4 separate regions of the Homo sapiens genome follow, and all the other regions are linked to region 1. Evidence: promoter capture Hi-C in human tissues and cell types (Jung and others, 2019). All regions are on one chromosome and are shown on one strand. The core of a region is centred on a gene start or on the middle of the fragment in contact, and the rest is flanking DNA. Distances in the headings are between cores, read along the strand shown. Region 1 holds the start of STARD10 (StAR related lipid transfer domain containing 10). Region 2 has its middle 28 kb from the start of CLPB. Region 3 overlaps FCHSD2 (FCH and double SH3 domains 2). Region 4 overlaps FCHSD2 (FCH and double SH3 domains 2).

What was found. Contacts are between HindIII fragments. The study calls those that stand out against the background at their distance.
Region 2: a contact is called between a fragment that was not itself captured here and the fragment with the promoter of STARD10 in region 1, in 2 of the 25 tissues and cell types used here (mesendoderm cells and thymus).
Region 3: a contact is called between a fragment that was not itself captured here and the fragment with the promoter of STARD10 in region 1, in 3 of the 25 tissues and cell types used here (dorsolateral prefrontal cortex, heart right ventricle and hippocampus).
Region 4: a fragment that was not itself captured here is called in contact with the fragment with the promoter of STARD10 in region 1 in 4 of the 25 tissues and cell types used here (heart right ventricle, lymphoblastoid cells, mesendoderm cells and 1 more).

The regions. Positions count from the first base shown.
Region 1 is chr11:72,792,622-72,795,442 of GRCh38, reverse strand. It overlaps STARD10 (StAR related lipid transfer domain containing 10), which reads left to right and starts at 1,396. Exons shown (of 7, transcript NM_006645.3): 1 at 1,396-2,568. RefSeq lists enhancers at 1,071-1,640, 2,772-2,821. The HindIII fragment of the contact is 19,379 bases long and covers 1-2,821 here.
Region 2 is chr11:72,461,350-72,464,170 of GRCh38, reverse strand. No RefSeq gene overlaps it. Among named protein-coding and RNA genes, the nearest start is that of CLPB, 28 kb to the right of the region's middle. The HindIII fragment of the contact is 5,010 bases long and covers 1-2,821 here.
Region 3 is chr11:73,124,549-73,127,369 of GRCh38, reverse strand. All of the region lies in intron 2 of FCHSD2 (FCH and double SH3 domains 2), which reads left to right. Among named protein-coding and RNA genes, the nearest start is that of FCHSD2, 16 kb to the left of the region's middle. The HindIII fragment of the contact is 4,053 bases long and covers 1-2,821 here.
Region 4 is chr11:73,080,455-73,083,275 of GRCh38, reverse strand. All of the region lies in intron 3 of FCHSD2 (FCH and double SH3 domains 2), which reads left to right. Among named protein-coding and RNA genes, the nearest start is that of FCHSD2, 60 kb to the left of the region's middle. The HindIII fragment of the contact is 7,146 bases long and covers 1-2,821 here.

The DNA.
Region 1 (2,821 bases), core at 147-2,646:
CACTCTCCTGTAGGTACCAAAGGTGCTCTCTCTTTGTATAGGGAAAAGGCAGGCTGGTTGTTTTTTGTTTTTGTTTTTTGAGACGGAGTCTCGCTCAGTCGCCCAGGCTGGAATGCAGTGGTGCGATCTCGGCTCACTGCAACCTCCACCTCCCAGGTTCATGCCATTCTCCTGCCTCAGCCTCCCGAGTAGCTGGGACTACAGGCGCCCGCCACCACACCCAGCTAATTTTTTTGTATTTTTAGTAGAGACGGGGTTTCACCATGTTAGCCAGGATGGTCTCAATCTTCTGACCTCGTGATCCGCCCGTCTTGGCCTCCCAAAGTGCTGGGATTACAGGCGTGAGCCACCACTCCCGGCCTAGGCTGGTTTATGACTCACAGGGTCTGTATTTCACAATAATCATACATATTCAGCAGGTTTTGGGGAAAAGCTATACATATTTATGAGGGGATGTGAGTGCATGCACAATGGGTAAACACCTGTAACATATGTTCCATGTTCACTTTGGGATGGGGTTTTTGCGTTAAAGTGAGGTGGAATTTGGTTCTTTGCATCATAAGGTGGACTATAGGACACAAACACAGTTTGCGTGCAGTCTCTATGAGCTTGCTGAAACTGGCCTGAGGTCTGCAGTTACTTATCAGGAAAGAATGTTTGTAAGGCCTGTCCTCTGTCGATCAGCGTTGTAGTGGTCTGAGTTGTAAATCTCAGTAAAGAAGAGTCTGACAATTTGCATGATAGCTCCTATTGCTAGGGGTTTAGTAAGAGTGTGGTTTTTCTGGCAGCAGTAGAAATTTAAGAAGTTGCCATGCCAGCTGACAGCTGAGCCCTGAGGTAGGCAACGTTTGTTTCCTTAACCTTAACCTTAAGGTCCATCGTAGTTGATAAAAAGGCATCTGGCCAGGCCTGATGGCTCACGCCTATAATCCCAGCACTTTGGGAGGGTGAGGCGGGAGGCCAGCAGTTCTGGGGCCACTGCACTCCAGCCTGACAGACAGAGACCCTGTCTCAAAAAATAAATAAATAAAAAAGATAAAGGGGCATTTGTCTTGATCGCTCAGATCACACAACTAATAAGTAGCATTCTTTCTAAAAGCCGCAACAATGCTACTCCTCTCTTATAAGAGCTACTGTGTAACTCCTGCCCAACTCAAACCCACAGGCCCAGGCTCAGAACACTTGGCTCCATTGCTTCACTGTTTCCCTGCTAGCACGAACCCCCCAAACTCCATCTCCCAACATGCCGCGGGCCCCCTTTCTGTCAGCCTGACTCTTGAGCTCCTGAGAAATGTAGTTTTTCCAGCGGCCCAGCCCCAGAAAGGTCCTAGCCAAGAACTACAGTTCCCATGTGGCAATGCGCGCGCCATTCCGGTGGAATTCACCGCGGTCTCCAGTTTGCCATGATGGATGCCAGAACCTGCACGTGGGGCTTGGTGACGCGATGACTGAGATGCTGGAGTCCCCGGTCAGAAGGACGATGCCGAGCGCGCCGTATTTTCTCCTGCCTCTCCTCAGATCGCCGCCGTTGTTGGGCTGTGGAGACGTCTCAACCAAAGTGGAGCCGACAGAGGCCCCGGGAGCCGTGGTGACAGAGCGGCCACAACCACTAGGGGGCGGGAGGCAGAGCGGCCCCTAGTCCGCCCCTAGTCCGGGACCTCTGGGCGGTCCCGGGCGGGAAGCGCACGCGCAAACGCGGGGCTTCGCGGCCGCTGTAAACACCAAAGAGCGCCTGCGCAAGCCGAGAGTCTCGGGATCGACACGTGGGGGCGCCTGAGCGAAGATAACCGTAATAAATAGTAACCTAACGGTCCAGTCATCGTTCTGTGGTCCTTTCTTTTATGATTCACAAGGAATGACCCTCTTCATCGCCTCTCCTAATTCAGTCCTCACAACAGTCCTTTTACAAATGGGACAACAGGTTAGAGGAAGTCAGGCAGATTTCCAGCATCATAGAGAGTAAAGGACCAGGGAAGGATCAGGATTCAAGGACTGCACCCAGGCTCTGCTTCCAGCTTGCTGTGTGACTTTGGGTAATTTTGTTCCCTTAGGGAACTGAGCTTTCTCATTTGTAAATGCAAACAGGCTGTTGGGAGGATCAAATGAGATCCAGGGGTGAAAACAGCTTAGTTTACTTTCAGGAATTTACCCACGCGGTATATAAAGGCAAAATATTATTATAGTCAGGTGATTGTAGATTGAGGAACCCATTTCCTCATTCTGCAAATTGCAAACCTGAGGGCCCAAAGAGGGACAGGGGCTTGCCCCAGGTCTCAGCAGGCTGTGAGCAAGAGCTAAAGCCTAATCCTCCTGCCTTTGGGCCTGGAGCCCTTCCTTGTACCCCAGGGGTCAGTGTCTTTGTTGGATACAGGCTTAGATTGACTGACTGTACCCTGAGAACCTAGGGGAGTCCCTGTTCCCAATTCTTCTCCTACCCCCACCTTGGCCTGATGGAGGAAGACCCTGCTGTGTTGAGATGAGCACCAGAGCCAAGAAGCTGAGGAGGATCTGGAGAATTCTGGAGGAAGAGGAGAGTGTTGCTGGAGCTGTACAGACCCTGCTTCTCAGGTCAGTGGCCCAAGTAAGGGAAAGAACCCAGGTGTGACAGATGAGGGGGCAGCACTAAGGGGACAGACTCTGAATGGAAAGGAGTGGGAAGGCAGTGGACACTGTTTCTGAGCTTGGGAGGAATTGGGTACTCAGGTAACTCCATCTGGGGGCAGTGGAGCTGGAGGTGATACCTGGGCTGGCCTGGCTGATGAGAAGGGGAAGTGATGCGCATTGAGCTGAGGTCTAGGAGCCACTCCCCAGCCAGGTGAAG
Region 2 (2,821 bases), core at 186-2,685, 330 kb after region 1:
TGGGGCTCTGCTCTCAAGTCTAAGGGTGGCCCATATAAGCCAGGCTTAAGATAAACAACACAAAGCACTCACCAATGACCTGACAGGTTAAGAGGCAACACTTGCCCCAAGATGTCCCATCACAGGGAGTCTTATGACTTTAGATGAAAAGTTGAGGCAAAGATTTTCACACTTTCCTACTGGACATGAATGTGGAATGATGTTGCCCCAGAAGTCGCCGACAGTCATATCAAAACCACAGGGGAGAGACACTCTCTCTGCGAATGAGACCAACACAAACTGGGGAGCAGAGCCAAAGGACAGAGGGGATCCATGTCCTGATTATGTTTCACAAGCTCCTGTCTCAGTTACACCTGTAGCCAGCCCTAATCTGGGACTTTTGTATTGCATGAGCCTATCAATCCACTTTTTGCTTACAATGAAAATAGTCTTGCATACAATGAAAATATTCTTAACTAATATAGATTGTATGTATTCACATATTGATTTTTAACTTTTAGATTGAACAGAATGTATTATGGCAAAAGAAGAGACTATCAATGTTTTTATTTTATTTATTTTTATAAGACAGTATCATCAAGCAATATCAGTGTTTTTAACTTGACAATGTTAACATAAAAGCACAGATGCTAGAAACAGAGGTGGAAGATAAAAGGAAGAGTAAATAAAGAACAAGAGCACCAATATCTTAAAAACTTGAGGTCAAGAAACAGCCCATAGGCAATGAAACAAGAAATAAAAGTGTAAGTTAGCATTTAAAGTTACAGAAGTAACAAATAAAGGAACCCCAAACAATGTTATAAGCAAATTGGGAAGACAAGTAAGGAGAGTAAAAGATATGTACCCTAGGACCTTTGAGAAAATGGAGTTCAGTTCTAAAACCACTAAAAACAAAACAAAATTTATTTGACCTCCAATCCTGAAGAAAAAAACAATTTTTTTGAGCACCAAGTAAAAGGGGAAAAAATCAAAGGGAAGGAAAATAGATTTAAATGGTAAGGTCCAGCTGGAGGAAACTAGAGGAAAAATTGGAATGAAACTGTGAGCAATGGTATTCGTCTATATGCTGCCCTTATAAGCGTTTGGTACTTGCTTTGAGGCTACTCTAGGATGGTTGGCACTTCTTTTTCCTTTTGGATGATTGATGTGCAACTGATGCTTATCAGTCAGATCATCTGGATGTGCACACTTGGTAGCCAGCCCGAGGATGCTTCAGCTGAGGTTAAAAGAGAAAATGAATTGGAGACTTAGAAATTGGGGGAATAAAACTAATGAAAACATGGCTTGGTTTGAGTGTTGTTTAACATCAATGTTGGTGAGAAAATAGAAAAATTATCAGCTGAAAAAAGGAGGGATATTTAATAATATCTCACATTAGAAAAAAGTAACAACAACCTTGGAGCATGATACGATGTACTCATGACTCCTTACATGAAAGGGAGAGTGGGGCAGAAACAAAAAGAAAATGCATGCTAGGTCATCAAAGTGACCTGAGAAAACTCTGATATTGATCTGCCTTCTCCTGGTTGATAAGTGGCACCAGCCTAGGTCCCAAATTTTGGCTCTAATATTTTTCTCTTGGAAGAAGAACTAAGATTCTGGGGAAAAAAACTGATTCCACCTTTTGAAGTAGAAAGCATTTCATACCCAGCCTGGAACACCCTGTCATTCAAGAAAGCAGAGCTGTGAGTAGCCAAAGAGTGACCACATAAACTCCAGAGAGGGAAAAAATGACCACAGTTAATCAGAACGAACTGAGTCTATTGAAAGAACTGTGAGTCCACAGCATCCTAAATAGTTAGAAGGAAGACTTCACAAAGGGAACTGAAAGGTAGTGATGGCCTGGCACAATGGCACACTCTGGTAGTCCCAGCTTCTTGGGAGGCTGAGGCAGGAGGATCACTTGAGCCCGGGAAGTGATCGTGCCACTGCACTCCAACCTGAGCAACACAGTGAGACTCTGCCTCAAAAGATAAAAATACGAGTAAAAAGAAAAAGTAGTGATAATGTGCACACTAGCTAGCAAAATTATTAAAGTTTTGTATTGATCAGCCCAAACTACGTGAGTCATTCACTGGCATTTTGGTCATATCCCAGAAAATAAAATTTAGGAGTAGGTTTTGGGAGAAAAAAATCTTAGAAAGGCACACATCAAACATGGAAAGTTTTTTCTGTTTTGTTTTGTTTGGTTTGGTTTTGAGACAGAGTCTCAAGTCTGTTGCCAGGCTGGAGTGCAGTGGCGTGATCTCAGCTCACTGCAACCTCTGACTCCCTGGTTCAAGCAATTCTCCTGCCACAGCCTCCCGAGTAGCTGGGATTACAGGCTCGTGCCACCATGCCTAGGTATTTTTTGTATTTTTAGTAGAGATGGGGTTTCATTATGTTGGCCAGGATGGTGTTGATCTCTTGACTTCTTGATCCACCCTCCTCGGCCTCCCAAAGTGTTGGGATTACAGGCGTGAGCCACCGCACCCGGCCTTTTTTTTTTTTGAGATGGAGTCTTAAGTCTGTTGCCAGGCTGGAGTGCAGTGGCATGATCTCACCTCACTGCAACCTCTGACTCTCTGGTTCAAGCAATTCTCCTGCATCAGCCTCCCGAGTAGCTGGGATTACAGGCACATGCCACCACGCCCAGCTATTTTTTGTATTTTTAGTAGAGACGGGGTTTCATTATGTTGTTCAGGATGGTCTCAATCTCTTGACCTCATGATCCACCCTCCTCGGCCTCCCAAAGTGTTGGGATTACAGGCGTGAGCCACCATGCACTGCTTTTTTGTTTTGTTTTGTTTTGTTTTGTTTGAGACAGAGTCTCGCTCTGTCA
Region 3 (2,821 bases), core at 84-2,583, 330 kb before region 1:
GTATTTTTGTTAATTTCATTTTGTTAGGTCCTTTCAATATTCCTTGATCGTGCTTTGTTTTAACATTCCATTTGATCTTTTTGGCATTCATGTGGGAATCCTTTGTCATCCAGATGTTTTCTGTTTTGTGAGCTTGGAAATAATCCCAATTTAATAAGAAAATGTTATTTCTGGTGTTATGAAAAGTGTTACCATGTCTGTGGTTCCACAGAAACAAGTTGGAGTATATATTATATATGTCTCCTGATTGTATTTTAGTGATAATTGTTTTTCCTCTTACTGGTGATTGGAGGATGGGAGCAAGGGACAGAGACTCTTTTTGTTGTTTGCTTTTGAGACAGAGTCTTATTCCATCCCAGGCTGGAGCACAGTGGTGCAATCTCGGCTCACTGCAACCTCTGCCTCCCGTGTTCCAGCAATTCTTGTGCCTTGGCCTCCTGAGTAGCTAGGATTACAGGTGTGCAACACGATGCTCGGCAAATTTTTTTATTTTTCATAAAGATAGGGTTTTGCCATGTTGGTCAGGCTGGTCTTGGACTTCTGACCTCAAGTGATCCACCTGCCTTGGCCTCCCAAAGTGCTGGGATTACAGACGTGAGCCACTGCACCCAGTCTAAGCTTTTTATTGTATGTTCTTTTTTGTGTATTTTGAATTTTAAACTATGTGAATATTATGCTCAAAACTAAAATTTAATGATTCAGTAATATTGGTAAACATTTTATTGCATGTCTGTTAAGCATAACAGATATTTAACAGATATTATAAAAGTTCGTATTAGTTGATGCTAAAATGCCATTTTTGGCTTTTAATTAGTTTTTAGTGAAGCTATTTTCATTATTAATAGACTTTAAAATTTATTTCTAATATGTACAAGTATTAAGAATACTTGATTTACAAACTTTTCTTCATAAAGTGATTGGTTTCCAGTTGGTTGTAGCACAAAGTTGGGAAAACAAGCTTTATGTACTACTGTATTCCTTTCTTTCTGTATTGTGGAATTTTTTTTTTTTTTTTTTTTTTTTTTTTTTTAAGATGGAATCTTGCCCTGTTGCCCAGGCTGGAGTGCAGTGGCGTGATCTCAGCTCACTGCAACCTCTGCCTCCCAGGTTCAAGCGATTCTCCTGCCTCAGCCTCCCAAGTAGCTGGGATTACTGGTACCCATGACTATGCCTGGCTAATTTTTGTATTTTTAGTAGAGATGGGATTTCACCATGTTGGCCAGCCTGGTCTCGAACTTCTGACCTTGTGATCCGCCCACCTCGGCCTCCCAAAGTGCTGGGATTACAGGTGTGAGCCACCGCACCTGGCCGTGGAATTCTTTTGTCTTGAAACAAGCAAACATATTAGATAGAGTCTTGCCTAATGTCAAATTTCATTTTAGCTGCCTTTATCCAAAGGTTTTATATCATAGCCATCAATTAAAACATTGTTTCTGTTGTGAAATGTAGTTTTGCATTAGCCAGCTCTCTCCATGGAAGAATGGTTTGCTCTGTTTTACTAAAAGAAGTGTTTTATATAATAGTTTTTCTTAGTTACATTGAATCAATTGAAATTGTTAGTATTCCATTTTCTTTCTTTCTTTTTTCTTTTTCTTTTTGCATTTGTTAGCTATTCCTCTGTTTTTAAAGTGGTCATTCTAAGATATGACATTGTGTTTTTTTTTGTCTTGAGACAGGGTCTCTGTTGTCTGGGCTAGGTTATAGTGGTGCGGTCATGGCTCACTGCAGCCTTAACCCCTTGAGCTCAAACAGTCCTCTTGCCTCAGCCTCCTGAGTAGCTCAGACTACAGATGTGTGCCACTATGCCTGGCTAATTTTTTAAATTCTTAGTAGAGACAGGGTCTTACTATGTCTCCCAGGCATCATTGAACTGTGGAGCTCAAGCAGTCCCCCTTCTTTGGCCTCCCAAAGTGCTGGGATTATAGGCATGAGCCACCACACTCGATCTACACCATGCATTCTTAATTTATCACTGTCTACTTAGAGTTAATATTGTACCATTCCACATACGACCTTACAATGGTCTAATTACAGTTATTCCATCCCAGACTTTGTGCTGCTTATAAACCTCGTAATATAATGTTAGTTTTCTTTAAACAGGTATCTTTTAAAAAGATTAAGAGAAGGAAAAAAGTCTTATATTTACTAATCCTGACTCTTCTTTCCTTCCTGAAACCAACATACAGGTTTGAGTTTCCATCTGTTATCATTTTCTTTCAGCTTAAGGAACTTCCTTCAGCATTTCTGGTGCAATTCTGCAGCTTTTGACACTTCTCTTAGCTTTCATATGTCTGAAAATGTCTTTATTTCACCCTCACTTTGGGAAGATATTTTTGCTGGATATAGAATTCTGAGTTGGTCACTCCAGTGTCTTCTGGCTTTCATTATTTCTGATGAGAAGTTAGCTCTTACTTATAGACTTGTTCACATCTATGGAATGTGCTTTCCCTTGCTCTAATAGCTTTTTTCTCTTTATCTTTGGTTTCCTACAGTTTGAGTGTAATGTGACTAGTATAGTGTCTGTAATTATCTTGTTTGGGGTTCATCATTCAATGGTTGATGCTTTTCATGAAACCTGGGAAACTTCTGGCCATTGTTTCCTTTTTTTTTTTTTGAGACAGAGTCTCACTCTGTTGCCCAGGCTGGAGTGCAGTGGCGTAATCTCAGCTCACTGCAACCTCCGCCCCCTTGGTTCAAGTGATTCTCCTGCCTCAGCCTCCTGAGTAGCTGGGATTAGAGGCACACGCCATCATGCCCAGCTAATTTTTGTATTTTCAGTAGAGGCGGGGTTTCACCATGTTGGCCAGGCTGGTCTCGAACT
Region 4 (2,821 bases), core at 129-2,628, 290 kb before region 1:
CCCAGCCCTTTTCTTGTTATTTCTGTCTCATTTTGATCCCCCACTTTGCTGCCTTTGAATCATTATAAAGAAGGTTGTAAACCTGGAGGAGACATTATTTACTATATTTGTAAAGTATTTACAAGTATGAATAATAATACTTTTTACAAGTTTGTTGATTTATTCTTCTTTATATGCCCCATTCTCTGCAGTTTATGAAAGGTTAATTTTTCATCACGCATTTAGTTCTCATTATGACTGTGTTGATAAAGAGTAATAATGCTTTTAGTGGATGACATGGAGCTTTTCCTAGGGAAATTGAAGCATTTCCTTCTTTAATTTTACTTAGACCTTTAGTGGAGTCCAGATTACAAAATGTGACAAGAAAAAATTATGTTGATGTATCATTTTATGGTTGTATAAGAATTAATAACTATTCTTTCATGTACAAAGATAATTTGATACAGTTTGAAAATTTTGACCCTTTAAGCAATTACTTTATATGTGGGGGAGTATTCTAAAATTGTTATTTCCTTCTGCAAATTGTAAAAGTTGTCTTTGTAGCAAAAATTTTAAAATATGGGAGATTGTTAGAAGGAAAAATTAACATACAGTAAATTTTCTACATGGTAACCACTATTGCTGCTACTGTTTTTATTCTCATTATAAATAATGAGAGATTGGGGCATGACTCTTTTAGGCTTTGTCAGATTTTTTAATGAAATTCTGATTTCATTATAGTTAATTTTGTAGCTGTTTGCCTTTATTTTTGATTTGATAATCTTAGAAGAAAATCACCTATTCCTTGAAAGCTAGACAGAACTAATTAATTCATTGGTTCAATCAGTAGTTGTTGAGTGCTTATTGTGTATCAGGTGCTTTACATAATGAATAGCATCAGTTTTAATATTTCTGTTGAATGCTTTTTCTTTTCTTTTTTTTTTTTTTTTTTTTTTTTTTTGGGACAAGTCTCACTCTGTGATCCAGGCTAGAGTGCAGTGGTGCGATCTCGGCTCACTGCAACTTCCACCTCCCAGATTCAAGCGATTCTCCTGCCTCAGCCTCCTGAGTAGCTGGGATGACAGGCACACGCCATCACGCCCAGCTAATTTTTTGTATTTTTAGTAGAGACTGGGTTTCACCCTGTTGGCCAGGATGGTCTCAATCTCTTGACCACGTGATCCGCCTACCTCGGCCTCCCAAAGTGCTGGGATTACAGGCATGAGCCACCGCGCCCAGCCGATTTTTGTATTTTTAGTAGAGACGGGATTTTGCCATGTTGGCCAGGCTGGTCTCGAACTGCTGACCTTAGGTGATCCGCCCACCTCAGCCTCCCTAAGTGCTGGGATTACAGGCGTGAGTCACCGCGCCCGATCTTGAATGCTTTTTCTATGCCTGTATAATAAATACTAGTAATGATAGCTGACATTTATTGAATCCTTACTTTGTACCATGCTCTGAGTATTTTATATATGTTATCTGGTTTGATCCTTTCAAACCTGTGAAATAGCAACAGTTATGATGCCCTTTACAAATACACTTTCATACATGTACACTACATATATATTTATAAAATTGAGATGAAAGTCTGTGATACGCTATTTTAGCCAAGTGCAGTGGCACATGCTTGTAATCCCAGCTAGTGGGGAGGCTGAGGCAGGAGAGTTGCTTGATCCCTGGAGCCGGAGATTGCAGTGAGCTCAGATAGTGCCATTGGACTCCAGCCTGGGCAATGGGAGTGAAACCCTGTCTAAAAAAAAAATAGAAAAAAAGTCTATGATATGCTTTAAAAATTTTTAATACAAAATCAAAATTTTTATATGATACAGTCTTCTGTAACAAGATTTATTTATTTATTTAATTGAGATGGAGTCTCACTCTGTCACCCAGGCTGGAGTCCAGTGGCGCCATCTTGGCTCACTGCACCCTCCACCTCCCAAGTTCAAGCAATTCTCCTACCTCATCCTCCCGAATAGCTGGGACTACAGGTGCGTGCCACCATGCCCTTCTAATTTTTGTATTTTTAGTAGAGTTGGGGTTTCACCATAGTGGGCAAGATGATCTCGATCTCTTGACCTTGTGATCCACCTGCCTCGGCCTCCCAAAGTGTTGGGATTTCAGGCATGAGCCACAGTGCCTGGTCGATTTAAAGTTTTAATCAAGTAAATAGGACATGTTTATTATTTAAAATGTAAAATACTACATTAAATTTTATGAAAAGTGAGTCCTCTGCTCCAATCCCAGTCTTTTTCCACAAAGATTAAAAGTGGATGTCTACTTTGGTTCTCCTGGTGATTATTTCTATTTCTTTATTTTATTTTATTTTATTTTATTTTTGTTGTTTTTTTGAGACAGAGTCTTGCTCTGTCACCCAGGAAAAACTAGAGTGCAGTAGTACAGTCTTGGCTCACTGCAACTTCCGCCTCCTGGGTTCAAGTGATTCTCCTGCCTCAGCTTCCTGAGTAGCTGGGATTACAGGTGCCTGCCATCACACCTGGCTAATTTTTGTCTTTTTAGTAGAGATGGGGTTTCACAATGTTGTCCAGGCTGGTTTTGAACTGCTGACCTCAGATCATCCGCCCACCTCAGCCTCCGAAAGTGCTGAGATTACAGGTGTGAGCCACCATGCCCAGCCTCTATATCTTTAAATAATATGCTTATAACTCACTCTTTGTCAATTCTAGACATTATCACTTGATTACCTATAATAAATGAGAAACTTACTAAGCCATTCCTCTCCAGCCTACTCTTTTCAATATAATTGTGGCACTACTTTAGTACCTTTGTTACTTTTGTAACTCTAAATGATATATTTAAACTTGGTCTTTTTTTTGTTAAATAC